Linked DNA regions of Homo sapiens: all the other regions are linked to region 3. Evidence: promoter capture Hi-C in 16 types of primary human blood cells and fetal thymus (Javierre and others, 2016). All regions are on one chromosome and are shown on one strand. The core of a region is centred on a gene start or on the middle of the fragment in contact, and the rest is flanking DNA. Distances in the headings are between cores, read along the strand shown.

Region 1 (4,729 bases), core at 316-2,815, 310 kb before region 3:
CAAGCCTGTAATCCCAGCACTTTGGGAGGCCGAGGAAGGCGGATCACGAGGTCAGGAGTTCAAGACCAGCCTGACCAACATAGTGAAACCCCATCTCTACTAAAAATACAAAGTTAGCTAGGCGTAGTGGCGCATGCCTGTAATCCCAGCTACTGGGGAGGCTGAGGCAGGAGAATCATTTGAACCCAGGAGGCAGAGGTTGCAGTGAGCCGAGATTGCACCACTGCACTTCAGCCTGGCGACAGAGCAAGACTCTGTCTCAAAAAAAAAAAAAAAAAAAAAAAAAGGCCGGGCACGGTGGCTCAAGCCTGTAATCCCAGCACTTTGGGAGGCCGAGGCGGGCCGATCACAAGGTCAGGAATTCCAGACCAGCCTGGCCAATATGGTGAAACGCTGTCTCTACTAAAAATATTAAAAAAAATTAGCTCGGCATGGTGGTGCATGCCTGTGATCCCAGCTACTCAGGAGGCTGAGGCAGGAGAATTGCTTGAATCTGGGAGGCGGAGATTACCGTGAGCCGAGATCGCGCCACTGCACTCCAGCCTGGGCGACGTAGACACCGTCTCAAAAACAAAACAAACAAAAAAGAAGGAGATAATAGAATGGAGGGAAGACAATATTCAAAGAAATAGTGGCTGAACATTTTCCAGAATTGAAGGTAAATATCCTAAATTCTGGAAGACCAAAACTTGCCATGCTGAAAAGTATAAAATGCACACATAAAATTTAGTACCCAGAGAGAAAGGGGATCTTAAAATTAGGCAGCAAGAAAAGACATTAGGCCGGGCACAGTGGCTCACGCCTGTAATCCCAGCACTCTGGGAGGCCAACATGAGCAGATTGCCTGAGGTCAGGAGTTCGAGACCAGCCTGACCAACATGGCAAAACCCTGCCTCTACTAAAATTACAAAAATTAGCTGGGTGTGGTGGCACACGCCTGTAATCCCAGCTACTCGAGAGGCTAAGGCAGGAGAATCACTTGAACCTGGGAGGCAGAGGTTGCAGTGAGCTGAGATTGCGCCACTGCACTCCAGCCTAGGCAACAGAGCAAGACTCCATCTCAAAAAAAAAAAAAAAAAAGAAAAGAAAAGACACTAATCTTCAAAGAAAAGATAATTTGGCTGACAGCTGACCTTTCAATAGTAACAATAGAAGCCAAATGATACTGCAGCGTATCTTCAAAATGTTAAGAGAAAATTACCATCTTCCAGAAGGAAGATCCAAAATGCGAGAAGTAATGGTGAACAAAGAAAATTGTTTGCATGTTTGCTGTAAATCTAAACACTATCCAAAATAATGGCAACAATATCTAAATTCTACTATTGTTCAATAATTTAACATATACTATTGTGAGAGGGTAAATTAAAGTATTAGAAGGCTTTGTATTGTTTAAGAGGAGGCTAAATAAGTCTATAATTTGTTGAGTTAAATATACATGTTAAAATTTCTACATAATCAGTACAAGAAATTAAACAGTATATATAACTTCCAGTTTATTAGGGGGATAAAATAAAATAGGAAGATCTTAATTTTAAAAATGGATAAAAAATGTTTAAGGAGGACAAATAGTAAAACATTAGATAGCAGAAATAAATTCAAATATGAGTAATTACAATCAGTGTAAATATATTAATTCCTAATTAAAAGTCAAAGAGCTGGGCATGGTGGTTCACACCCATAATCCCAGCACTTTGGGAGGCCAAGGCAGGAGGATTGCTTAAGGCCAGGAGTTTGAAACCAGCCTGGGCAACATAGCAAGACCCCATCTCAAAAAAAAAAATTGGGGGTGGGGGGTGGTACTGAGACAGGAGAATCACCTGAACCTGGTAATTCAAGCCTGCAGTAAGCACCACCGCACTCCAGCCTGGGTGGCAGAGCAAGACCCTGTCTCAAAAAAAAAAAAAATATTAATAGCCAGGCACAGTGGTTTGCACCTGTAATCCCAGCTAGTCAGGAGGCTGAGGCAGGAGGATTTTTTGAGCCCGGAAGTTCAAGGTTACAGTGAACTATGACTGCACCACTGCACTCCAGCCTGCACAACAGGGGAAGACCCTGAAGTTCATAGCTGCATTTTTTATATTGGTGAAAAAAATGGAAACTCAAGCTCAGGTAGATAGCAATGATAGAATGATGAATGATTAATACAGTATGGTATCTTCATACCATGTAAACAATGAAAATGAACAAACTACAGCTACAAACAACAATGTGATGAATCACAAAAATAAATGAAAGAAGCCAGACACAAACAAATACTGTATGAATCCGTTAAAAACAGTTCAAAAGCAGGGAAAACTAAACTATCATTTTAGAAGTCAGAATTGTGGTTAAGGAGGGAAGTCTTTTTGAGGAAGGAAGAAATCAATAATAAGGAGGGGTCATGAGAAGATATTCCATTTCTTAACCTAGGGGGAAGTTGCACATATATGTTCACCTAGGGACAATTCAGTGAGCTGTACTCATGATCTGTATACTTCTCCATATGTATTTTATATTTCAAAAAGTTTAAAAATAAAAACTAGCTCCTTAAGTTTTTAAGTTTTTTCTTTAATTGAAATTAAATATAACAGTGTTTCCCAAAAAAAGCAAAACTAAATCATCATGTTTAGGGATACAAATTAGGGGAAAAACTTAAAAGAAAAAAAAAAAAAGCCAGGAAGTGACTATCATAGACATCATGATACTGGTTCTGGTTCTTCTGGGAACGAGGGGCAAGAGTTCGTGGAGACACAAAAATAAGAATGCTCTTATTCTTGATATGAGCTGTGGTGGTTACATGGGTGTTTGCTTTGTATTAAATTGACCAGGGGCCAGGCGCGGTGGGTCATGCCTATAATCCCAGCACTTTGGGAGGCTGAGGAGGGTGGACCACCTGAAGCCAGGAGTTCAAGACCAGCCTGGCTAACATGGTGAAACCCTGTTTCTACTAAAAATACAAAAAGTAGCCGGGTGTGGTGGCGCATGCCTGTAGTCCCAGCTACTCGGGAGGCTGAGGCAGAAGAATCACTCGAACCCAGGAAGTGGAGGTTACAGTGAGCTGAGATCGTGCCACTTCATCCCAGCCTGGGCAACAGAGCCAGACTCCATCTCAAATAAAAAAGAACAACAACAAAAGAAGAAATTGACCAGGCCAGCAAGAATCACTTGAGGCCAGGAATTGGAGACCAGCCTGAGCACCATAGTGAGACCCTGTCTCTATAAAAAATAAAATTAAAAATTAGCCAGGCATGGTAACACACTTGTAGTCCCAGCTACTCAGGAGGCTGAGGTGGGAGGATTGCTTGAGGCCAGGTCAAAGCTGCAGTGATCCATGATTGTGCCACTGCACTCCACCCTGGATGACAGAGAGAGACCCTGTCTCAAAAAATAAATAATAAATAAGAATAAATTATTGACCTGTGTTTACCTTGTTCGGGCATTATTCTTTTTTTTCTTTCTTTCTTTTTTTTTTTTTTTTGAGACAGAGTCTTGCTCTGTCGCCAGGCCGAAGTGCAGTGGTGCGATCTCGGCTCACTGCAACCTCCACCTCTCAGGTTCAAGCAATTCCCCTGCCTCAGCCTCCCAAGTAGCTGGGACTACAGGCGCACGCCACCACGCCCGGCTGATTTTTTGTATTTTAGTAGAGACAGGGTTTCACCATGTTGGTCAGACTGGTCTCGAACTCCTGACCTCATGATCCGCCTGCCTCGGCCTCCCAAAGTGCTGAAATTATAGGCGTCAGCCACCGCACCCGGCCTCTTTTTTTTCTTTTTTTAACAGAAATGGGATCTCTCTCTGTTGCCCAGGCTGGTCTCAAACTCCTGGGCTCAAGCAATCCTTTTGCCTCACCTTCCCAAAGTGCTGGGATTACCAGGTATGAGCCACCATACCCAGCCAGGACATTTTCTATATGAATATTGCACAATGAAAAGGGGGGTATTTTGGTATTTTTATTAGAGAAAGTGTCTCACTCCATCTCCCAGGCTGGAGTACAGTGGCTCCATTATAGCTCATGGTAGCCCAGAACTCCTGGGCTCAAGTGATCCTCCCACCTCAACCTCCTATGTAGCTGGAACTATAGGCACATGCTGTCACACCTAGCTTTTTTTATGTATTTTTTATTTTTTTGGTAGAGACAAAGTCTTGCTATGTTGCCCAGGCTGGTCTTGAACTCCTGGCCTCAAGCGATCCTCCCACTTCAGCCTCCCAAAGTGCTAGGATTACAAGCATGAGCCACTGCACCAGCCTAAAAAAGATATTTTAAAGTAAGCTTTTAAAAAAAGATAATAGGCCGGGCGCTGTGGCTCATGCCTCTATTCCCAGCACTTTGGGAGGCCAAGGTGAGCGGATCACCTGAGGTCAGGAGTTCGAGACCAGCCTGACCAATGTGGTGAAACCCAGTCTCTAATAAAAATACAAAAATTAGCCAGGCATGGTGGCACACGCCTGTAATTCCAGCTACTCAGGAGGCTGAGGCAGGAGAATCACTTGAACCCAGGGGGCGGAGGTTGCAGTGACCCAAGATCACACCATTGCACTCCAGCCTGGGCGACAGAGCAAGACTCCATCTCGAAAAAAAAAAAAAAAACGGATAATATAAGACAATGTCTTCGTGATTCTTAAATAAAACACAACCTTTTCACGGTACAGTAAGGATTGATAAATTCAGCTATTTTACATTTGACACCATTAAAAAAGTGAAAGTTCAAGCCAAAAGACTGGAAAAGTTAGCTACAAAACATTCAACCCA
Region 2 (4,662 bases), core at 1,143-3,642, 340 kb before region 3:
CACTTTTGAGAGGCTGAGGGGGTTGGAACCCTTGAACCCAGGAGTTCCAGACCAGCCTGGGCAACGTGGTGAAACCTTGTCTCTACAAAAAAATACAAAAATTAGCCAGGCATGGTGGCATGTGCTTGTAGTCCCAGCTACTTGAGAGACTGAGGTAGGAGAATCACTTGGGCCCAGGAGGTCGGGGCTGCAGAGAGACGCGATTGTGACACTGCACTCCAACTTGGGTGACAGAGTAAGATTTGGTTTCGAAATTAAATAAAGTATAATACAGTAGTTAAAAGCTAGGCCTCAGAGGCAGAAATACCTATATTCACACATCCCTACTTGTCCCTAACTTTCTCTGGCAACTTACTTAACTTGTCCAAGTCTTAAGTATAAAATGGAGATGCTATACTAACTACCTCACAGAGCTGGTTGAAAGGATTAATATATGTAACCTCTTCAGCAATGTCTATACATAATAAGCAATAATGCCTATCATTATAACTGAAATTGTTGTCATTTCTTTAATAGCATAGATCCTAGCTTCTACATGTAACATCACTTTTTATATAAATGAAGAGAGTATCCACCATCCAAACTACCTAAAGCAGGAGGTCTCAACCACAGGTCTATCAAGCTCACTAGTCAGATGGGTCACTAAAAAGTCATTATTAACAATAGTTAGGCCAGGCGCGGTGGCCCATGCCTTTAATCCCAGAACTTTGGGAGGCCAAGGTGGGTGGATCACTTGAGGGCAGAAGATCGAGACCAGCCTGGCCAACATGGCAAAATCCAACCTATACTAAAAATACAAAAATTAGCCGGATGTGGTGGCATGTGCCCGTAATCCCAGCTACTTGGAAGGCTGAAACAGAATTGCCTGAACCCAGGAGGCAGAGGTTGCAGTGAGCCAAGATCGCACCACTGCACTCCAGCCTGGGAAACACAGCAAGACTTTGTCTCAAAAACAAAAACAAAAATAAAAACAAAACAGTTAGTGAACCATTAAGTTCACATGTAAAGTACATGCAGCAGATTCTGTATAATTCGTTGTGTTTATAAATGTCTTTCCTAGTCTATCCCACATCATGTATAATGCTAATGAAAAGGACTGAAAAATCACTGGCCTAAGTGATTAACTGAGAGGTAAGATTTCAACACAAAGGTGAAAATCTCAAATGATAGATCAGGTTTTAAAGTAGATCTAATGGGAAATTATCCTCTTTCCCCATCTACGTATTTTATTAACTAGTGAAAGTTGAGAGGATGTACTTAATATCCATCTGGTAATCTAAGCAAGGAAACACTGGCCAAAAAAAAAAAAAGTTTTCAGAAGTATAAAAGGGGACCAGGTGCAGTGGCTCATGCTTGTAACCCCAGCACTTTGGGAGGTAGAGGTGGGTGGATCACCCGAGGCCTGGAGTTCGAGACGAGTCTGGCCAACATGGCGAAAGCCTGTCTCTACTAAAAATACAAAAATTAGCCAGGCATGGTGGCGAGCGCCTGTCATCCCAGCTACTCGAGAGGCTGGGGCAGGAGAATTGCTTGAACCTGGGAGACAGGGGTTGCAGTGAGCCAAGATCACACCATTGCACTCCAGCTTGGGCGACAGAGCGAGACTGTCTCAAAAAAAAAAAAAAAAAAAGGGTTGGGGCAGGGGTGGGAATTATTGTGGTTGATTAATAAAAGCCTGGGCACAACAGCAAAATATCAAAAAAAATTTTTAAAGAAGGCTTTTAAAACTGAGAATAAAAACTTATTCAGTTCACACCTTTTTGGTACAGAGATACTATTATTTCAACATTTTTGTTTGTTTGTTTTTAAGATGGAGTCTTGCTCTGTCGGTCAGGCTGAAGTGCAGTGCTACGATCTTGGCTCACTGCAACCTCCGCCTCCCAGGTTCAAGCAATTCTCCTGCCTCAGCCTCTCCAGTAGCTGGGATTACAGGCACATGCCCCTATGCCTGGCTAATTTTTATATTTTTAGTACAGACAGTGTTTCACCATGTTGGCCGGGCTGGTCTCAAACCCCTGACCTCAGCTGATCCACCCACCTCAGCCTCCCACAGTGCTGGGATTACAGGCATGAGCCACCACGCCTGGCCTATTTTAACATGTTATATCACACTTTTTAAAATCATTTTGTGGGGCCAGGTGTGGTGGCTAACACCTGTAATACCAACACTTTGGAAGGCCAAGGCAGGAGGACTGCTTGAGGCCAAGAGTTCAAGACCAACCTGGGCGACATAAGAAGACCCTGTCTCTATAAATAATAAAACAATTTTTTAAAAGATTATAATGTAACCTCAGAAAGAGATTTTAATATTCTAGAGTCACCAGAATTTAAAAATTACCTGCCACTTAAACTATTAATATCCAGATGCTTCCCATTAGTGACAATTATACTATTGTGTTGATTTGCTCTATTATTGAAGAAAAACTTCAAATTTTTAAAAATGTGTACCGAATCTTTCCCTCTACTTTAAATTTCTCACCCCTTGCCTATATTCCTCTATGCTAGCAGTTTCTCTGCAAAAAACCAAAACACTGCATTATCCTTACAAAATAAACAATAGGAAAAGAAACAAAAAATCTCTACCATATACTCTAATTTTAATGCCTTTTCCTTATTAATCAAATTATGGAGGACAGGATGTTGTTCAGGAAAAAAATCATGAATGTGCCACCTACTGATTACATATAATAACCAAGATAATTACTTCCAGGTCAGATTTAAATTCCACTTATGTCTGTGGCAAGTCTTTAAGAGCATATTATTCTTAAAAAAAAAAAAAAAAAAAAAAATTATCCCTCCAAATAGAATATTCTCACCTGTTCAGTAATTGAACTCAAATCATTAGATGAAAAATCTTCCTCTTCATTCTCAAAAAACTCATAGTAGTTTTCCAGAAGTCCAGCCATTATCCTGCTCACTATTTCTTGCTCTTTCATGTCTTCCACATCTGTGTAAATGCTAAGAATAGAAGTCCAAATTGAATTGAGAGTTCTTAAATCAATCACAGGTAAAGGTAGAAGACAACCAATGAGATACTTTATGAACATGGGCAATTTATGTTACCATTCTGTGCTTCCATTCTCCCATCTGTAAAACCTACCTAATTTGTACCCTGTTCACAAAAATGCTGTAAGAATTAATCATATCTACTATAAAAAATAATTGTTCATCAAGCAACCTGCGATCCTTGGGAGACAATATAATGATTCCATTTCACATATCTAATTTTTCTTTTTTTTTTTTATGAGATGGAGTCTCGCTCTGTCACCCAGGCTGGAGTGCATTGGCGCGATCTCGGCTCACTGCAAGCTCCGCCTCCCCGGGTTCACGCCATTCTCCTGTCTCAGCCTCCCGAGCAGCTGGGACTACAGGCACCCGCCACCATGCCCAGCTAGTTTTTTTATTTTTAGTAGAGACGGGGTTTCACCGTGTTAGCCAGGATGGTCTCAATCTCCTGACCTTGTGATCCGCCCGCATCAGCCTCCCAAAGTGCTGGGATTACAGGCATGAGCCACCGTGCCCGGCCTCACATATCTAATTTTTAAAAATTAAACAAAAATTTTTTAAACAACTTACTGGAAGACATCTGGACCAAAGACAGCAGCCAAAGAATTTGCGGACCAAATTTCTTCATGATGTGATGCTACATTGGCTAAAAATCTACACAGAAACTTTAACAAACTATAATTAACAGGTGGAAGCTGTTGCAAGAGGAACCTCAACTTTCTTCCAAATTCATCTTCATTATTATAATCTATAAAACAATAATAACAGGTTTTTTTCAATAAAGGAAAAAGCAAAGCTCTGATATTTTGCCAGGTTCACATTACTCCACCCACATCACCTTTTTAATACAACAATTCAAAACCTCTTCACTTCCTCTACTGGGGCCAAATGCCTTAGGGCTTTGTATTTCACTTATGAAATGGAGAAGAGGTGGAGAAGAGGAGCTGGAAAAAAGGAACTCAATCCCTTAATTGCTGGAGGATGTTTTCCTCATCTATTACTCATTGGCCCCAATTCTCTTTTTTTTTTTTTTTTTTTTTTAATTCTCATCCTACTGTCTCCAGCATGACTGTACCTGTGTTTCCACACTAGTGCCAACTATAAGAAGTCAAAATGCACTGGCCATGCCAGACAATACAAACCACTAGTGAGCAAAGCAGAGATGCAATTTGAGGGGCTAATAGTATCAGTGATACCTTTCAGCTTAGATGAAAGTAAAAAGAAGGAAAGAAAAAGGTAACAGTGTGATTTTCTTCTCCTGGCGTCCTAAAATAAACAATTAACTTCAGCAATATCAGTATAACTAAATTAAAAGGTCTTTCATTTCTCGTCTGTTTTTCTCCTCTAAATTCATGTTGGTTTCTGCTTATCAAGTAAACTTTATCACACAAGTTAGGCCTTGTATTTATCGTGTCAATGAGTTTTCATTAACAGAAACTAGACCCGTATTCATTCCACTAATTGGTGAGGATCCCATTTGGGAGAAATAAGTGCTCAGAGGTCCTCTCGAAATGAAGTGATTTATTGTGCTACATGAGTAAAAATCAATTAAATTATGTTTCATTTTGTATTTTTCCGCAGGTTCTTAAAATTATTTTACTGAAAAACTCCTGGTAAAAGGTTACGGTCATGATATTAACTATCTCTGCAAAATAA
Region 3 (4,719 bases), core at 1,988-4,487:
TATCCCTGTGTGTGTGAGTGAAGCCACTCCCCAGGCTGGTGCTCTCCTCCTGTGCCCAGTGACTGCCCAGTGGCAGCTCAGCTGCCCTTCACTCCCACCTGCTGCCAAAGTCCCTGTGCTAATGGGATTACAAATACAAAAAGTGGAAAAAAATTTTCGTAAACTTTGTTTTATATTAAAAGAAAAATCCATAAGTCTGTGTGTGTTAAACATGAGGTTCTGCCTCTGTGGCTGTGTTTGAAAAAATAAAGTTTTATTAGAATAATCCATTTTCCCAAGCAACCTTGTGTACTACAGTGTCTTCTTCCCTTCCCCACAAAGACAAGGAAGAAGCAGGGTAGAAGGCCACCTAACTGTTCCAGCCCCTTCATCTAAGATGTGGGTCAACCTTTCAAAAAGGGGCAGTATTTGGACCCTAGGCCCTTTGCCGGCCATGGCAGGATGTTATACTGTGGCCCAGGCTTCTGCTAAGGCCTTGGTTATTTTTGGCAGTCTGGTTTGGTCTCTCTTTCCCTGGCAGTTATACTTGTCTCCTCCTGCCTGCTGTCACTCTCACTTCCAGCAAGTTGAAGTCAAGTATGAATGCATTCCAGCTCCCTGAGAAATGGTTTATGGTACAGTCAGGAACTTGTCTAGATTGGTTTGTAGGCTTTGGGAAGTAGGGAGAAGGCAGGGTGGGAGACAGCCAGGGATCTTTCTTAAGTTTTCACATGTTACATCCTGGAGAGATAGAGGTTTAGTCATCAGAATTCAGATTCCATAGACCTAGGCAATTTTTCCATCCTAAAAATACTGCTTTTGGAAAATAATCCTAGCTGCAAAGCTTCTCTTTTGTTGTAGAAGACAGTATTTTCCCTAATGTTTCCTTTGGGAGTGTTGGTTTGCCAAAAGAAGCTATGTGGCTCACTCTTTAGACCTTTCTGTTCCACCCTTTCTTCTCTCTATGTTGACATTCTTCCAATGTGTGTGGGTGAAGTGTAGTTGCTTAGAGATCCAGGCAGGAGCCTCTGTCTCTAAGGCTTAGCCTTTCTTTACCAGTTGTGGTGCTAATTTGCCAGGCAGCAAGAAGAGTCAAGTTGCTTAGCTTATGTCCTGGTTTCCTGCTTCAAATTGGTGGCACTCATCATTGAATACCAATGAAGTGTGTGCAGGACAGGACTGACTTGACTACCTGGAGCAGGAATCTTTGCAGGGGTGCACATACACCCTAGAAAAAGTGAGGGTTGTCACCTGCCCTGGAAACAAAGGAAGGGCTTTGGGGAAGTGGTGGGCAGTGGCATGTGGTTAAAGAAGCTTAGAATTACAGGGTTTTTTTTCTTTAAAACTGATGTTTCATTTCACCTACTGCTTGAGCAGGGGTAAAGTTTGAACATCTAAAATGACTTTGTTTCCCCCTTTTTTTCTTTTGAGTTTATTTTTGTTGGATTTTTCTGCTATTTTCTGTGAGGCCAAGTGTGATTTTATTTTTCATTCCTGAAGTCTTGTTAATATAGGAAAGAACGTAAACTCCATGAGGGCAAGAGTTTTGTTTTATTCAATATTGTGTCCCCAACACTTTGGGAAGTTCCTGGCACATGAAAAGTGCTGGTCACATTTGTTGAATGCATTTCCCTTTTGCCTTTCCCATCCGTGAACTTAGGTACATTTCTGTCTCTCTGCTGTGAGAAACTAGCCTTGGACATTGGGGCAGTAGTTAAATCTCTGTATGGGAGAAAATCCCAGCAGATAATTTTGATAGAAAAATTGCAAGGCAGATAGATCTTGTATGGATTCACCCTTGTTCCCCTCCTACCAACTACAGCTTATGGGCCATGTGCTTTAAGAGGTGGCTCTCAGCCCAGAAAAACATTCTGAGTCAGGCCTCAGGTTGGCTGTGGGAGATGGAAGTTAAAAAGAAGTGGAGGGAGGAATGTTTCCTTGGTGCTCCACAGGGTTGGTTCTAGAATGATTTTCCTATATGTTTTATACTTTAGTAAAAGTATAAAGTCAATAGTTGGTTACCCCTCTCCCCAAGCCTTTGTTACAAGAAAAGTAGGTCAAGGGTGTAGACAAGGTTATGGACAGGAGATAGCTGGGGTAGGCACAGAAGCCTTGGAGAAAGAACCAGCTACCACTATTTCCTGTCTGTAGGGAAAATCAAAAAGTCACTTTTAGAACAACAGTCATGGGTTATTACTATACCCTTTATCTTTTGTATCCATTTTGTGTATACTCAGTCTCTGCATCCATGAGACCATGGAATGTGCTAGTCCCTGATATTGCCAGCTTTAAATGATTGAGGCAATTTCCTGTTGCTTATTGTGGGTAACAATCTAGCCAAAAATCTCAGCATCTCACTTTCTCTGCAGGCTCCTTTTCTAATCAGGAGCTATCAGTCTCCCACACCTGTATTAAATGCATTCAGATAAGAGTTACAGAATTTTCTTTGCCCCCAGCCCCACTAATTCCATGGTAAGATGGAGTGCTACTAAGAGAACCCCTTTACTGTTGGTCTATTTCCAGTTCCCCTAAGAGTTGAATGGAGAAACACGTAGACTTAATAACATTGGCAGACTAGGAAGGGGAAGAAGTTAGGTCGGTTTTAGGAAAAACACCAAGATGTTGGGGGGCACGTTGGCCTTCAGTCAGTGGAAAGAGTGGCATTATACATCCAATGGAAGTAATACATTGGCCAATTGGAAAGGAACCTAAGAAGTGCTGGCAGTATAGAATGGGATGGTGCTGTTATGGGCCATTGAGAAGGAAGACATTGTGTCTCATGGACCAATGGGGAGAACATTTCCTACAAGACAGCAGGTAGGAGCTCATATTTTCAGGATAGGAAATCAATGGGGGTATTGGAGACACTAAATAGCTCAAAACATCCACTCTCTAGGTACCTTGCCCCTCACCCCCTTACCCCGTAAATGTCTTTGGTATCCGAGGAGAGCAAGCTAAAGCCCTCTCATATATACGACTCCCTGAAGGAAGATTGAGACCAGGGATGATGCCATGGGGAAGCTGAAGGACCCGCCCACTTCCCTACCCCGGCCGGACCTGCAATTCCCCTCCAGACCGCAGGGGGCACTGCAGGCCCCGGGGAGATTGGGGCGGAGCGCTGCGAGGGGCCAGGAGCTGTCGCCCCGCTCCAGAGCGCGGGGGGCGCTGTGCGGGGCCCAGGCTGCGGCTCCGCTCCCGGCCACGGGGGGCGCTGCGCTGCGCCGGTGGTTGGTGGTGGCTGTTGGGGGGGGTGGGGGGGAACGGCGGCCGCGGGTGGTGCGGAGGGAGGCCTTGCGGGCGGATCGGGCGCTTGGCGGCGGAGGTGGTGGGAGGCGGCGGGCGGGAGCGCGGGTCAGGCCGGCCCCGGCGATGGCGGACGCGGCGGCCTCCCCGGTGGGCAAGCGGCTGCTGCTGCTGTTCGCGGACACTGCGGCCTCAGCCTCGGCCTCGGCTCCCGCGGCGGCAGCGGCGAGCGGAGATCCGGGGCCTGCGCTGCGCACTCGAGCCTGGCGGGCCGGCACGGTGCGGGCCATGAGCGGGGCGGTGCCCCAGGACCTAGCGGTGAGTGGCGGCCGAGTCGGGCACTCGAGGCCGGGGCTGCGGGGCCTGCGGGCGGCCTCCCCGGGGGCCTTTGTGAGGGGGCGGTGGGATGGGGGTGACCCATTTCCGTGCCCCCGGGTCTCCTTAGCGCCCCCCGCCGGCACCTCCGCACCCCGAGCGCTTGCCGGCATGGCTTCCGCGTCGGGGTGTGCGCCCCGGTTTCCCCCGGGGGGCGGCCAGGGCGTCCGGAGCTGCTGCTTGCAGCCAGCAGGCCCCGCCTCCTGGGCGACCCTTTTCTCGGCGTTCCCCCCAACACGCCTTCGGAGCAGGCTCTCGAATCTTGAGCTCCCGGGAGCCTCAGAGTTCGGCCAGTGTTGCCGCTGCCCTCTCGAAGACGCGGACCTGTGGTCCCCAGCCTCTCCCAGGAGACCTGCGCCCTGTTCCTTTTCTCCCAGAGCCCCAAGTGGGGCGGGAATGTGGGCAGTTATGGGAGGCACGGAGGCTGCAGTTGGAGCTGGTCGGGGCTTTTTTATCTGGCAGTTACTTCCTCATCTGAGCTGGGCTCGGCCTGGCGGTCTCCAGAAAGGCCAGCTCTCGGCACTGTCTCGAGCTCTCCTCTCCTTTCCTTAACGCTTCTGGGTGACAGGAGCTGCAGTTGTGGCTGTTTTTGTTAAGTTTGAGATCTTTCTTAGTGGCCGAACGGGGCTGCTGGGTAGTGCTTTTTGCTCCCAGCTCAGCTACTCCCCCAACCTTGGGAGAGGTTTTGTTTTGAAACTTTGTGTTTGGGCTTGGCCCTTTTTGAATGCCTTGGTGTGTTTTGTGATTAAAGTTGTTCAGTCATACAACTTAACTAGCATTCGGGATCATGATGTGTTATTCTCGTTAATGTGGCGGTAAAATATAGTGTTTGAGTTTTGGCAAGCCACTTTATTTCCTCATTTTGATAGGGGCCCTAGCTTCTCTGGTGAGATAAGGCTATGAAAAATGGTGTGTGTGCGTGTTGGGGCAGGGGGTGGTCTTTTGGAATGTAATAGATCAGCAAGCAGAAAGTAAATTTTCTTGATGAACTTGCTTTTGCAGATATAAACGGGAACGCAGTTTGTGAGATTTGGAAGTAATGTTGTAGGCTTCCGATGTTCATTTTTCTTCCTATTGATCAACGGTGTTAGACTGTCCTTTTTCACTAATATACAAGCTTTA

Evidence for each region. The method cuts DNA at HindIII sites, captures the fragments that hold promoters and counts their contacts. A CHiCAGO score of 5 or more calls a contact.
Region 1: a fragment that was not itself captured here is called in contact with the fragment with the promoter of KDM3B in region 3 in 1 of 17 cell types (neutrophils); the score reaches 8.9 in neutrophils.
Region 2: a fragment that was not itself captured here is called in contact with the fragment with the promoter of KDM3B in region 3 in 1 of 17 cell types (neutrophils); the score reaches 5.2 in neutrophils.

Annotation. Positions count from the first base shown.
Region 1 is chr5:138,040,002-138,044,730 of GRCh38, forward strand. It overlaps a transcript of FAM13B not described here. Among named protein-coding and RNA genes, the nearest start is that of FAM13B, 9.3 kb to the left of the region's middle. The HindIII fragment of the contact is 5,363 bases long and covers 1-4,247 here.
Region 2 is chr5:138,008,192-138,012,853 of GRCh38, forward strand. It overlaps FAM13B (family with sequence similarity 13 member B), which reads right to left. Exons shown (of 24, transcript NM_001385994.1): 5 at 3,577-3,754; 6 at 2,817-2,958. Among named protein-coding and RNA genes, the nearest start is that of FAM13B-AS1, 22 kb to the right of the region's middle. The HindIII fragment of the contact is 8,248 bases long and covers 1-4,662 here.
Region 3 is chr5:138,349,448-138,354,166 of GRCh38, forward strand. It overlaps KDM3B (lysine demethylase 3B), which reads left to right and starts at 3,238. Exons shown (of 24, transcript NM_016604.4): 1 at 3,238-3,540. The coding sequence starts at 3,349. FAM53C (family with sequence similarity 53 member C) reads left to right here. Exons shown (of 5, transcript NM_016605.3): 5 at 1-282. RefSeq lists silencers at 2,938-3,017, 3,038-3,277, 3,358-3,827 and an enhancer at 4,078-4,177. The HindIII fragment of the contact is 3,421 bases long and covers 1,292-4,712 here.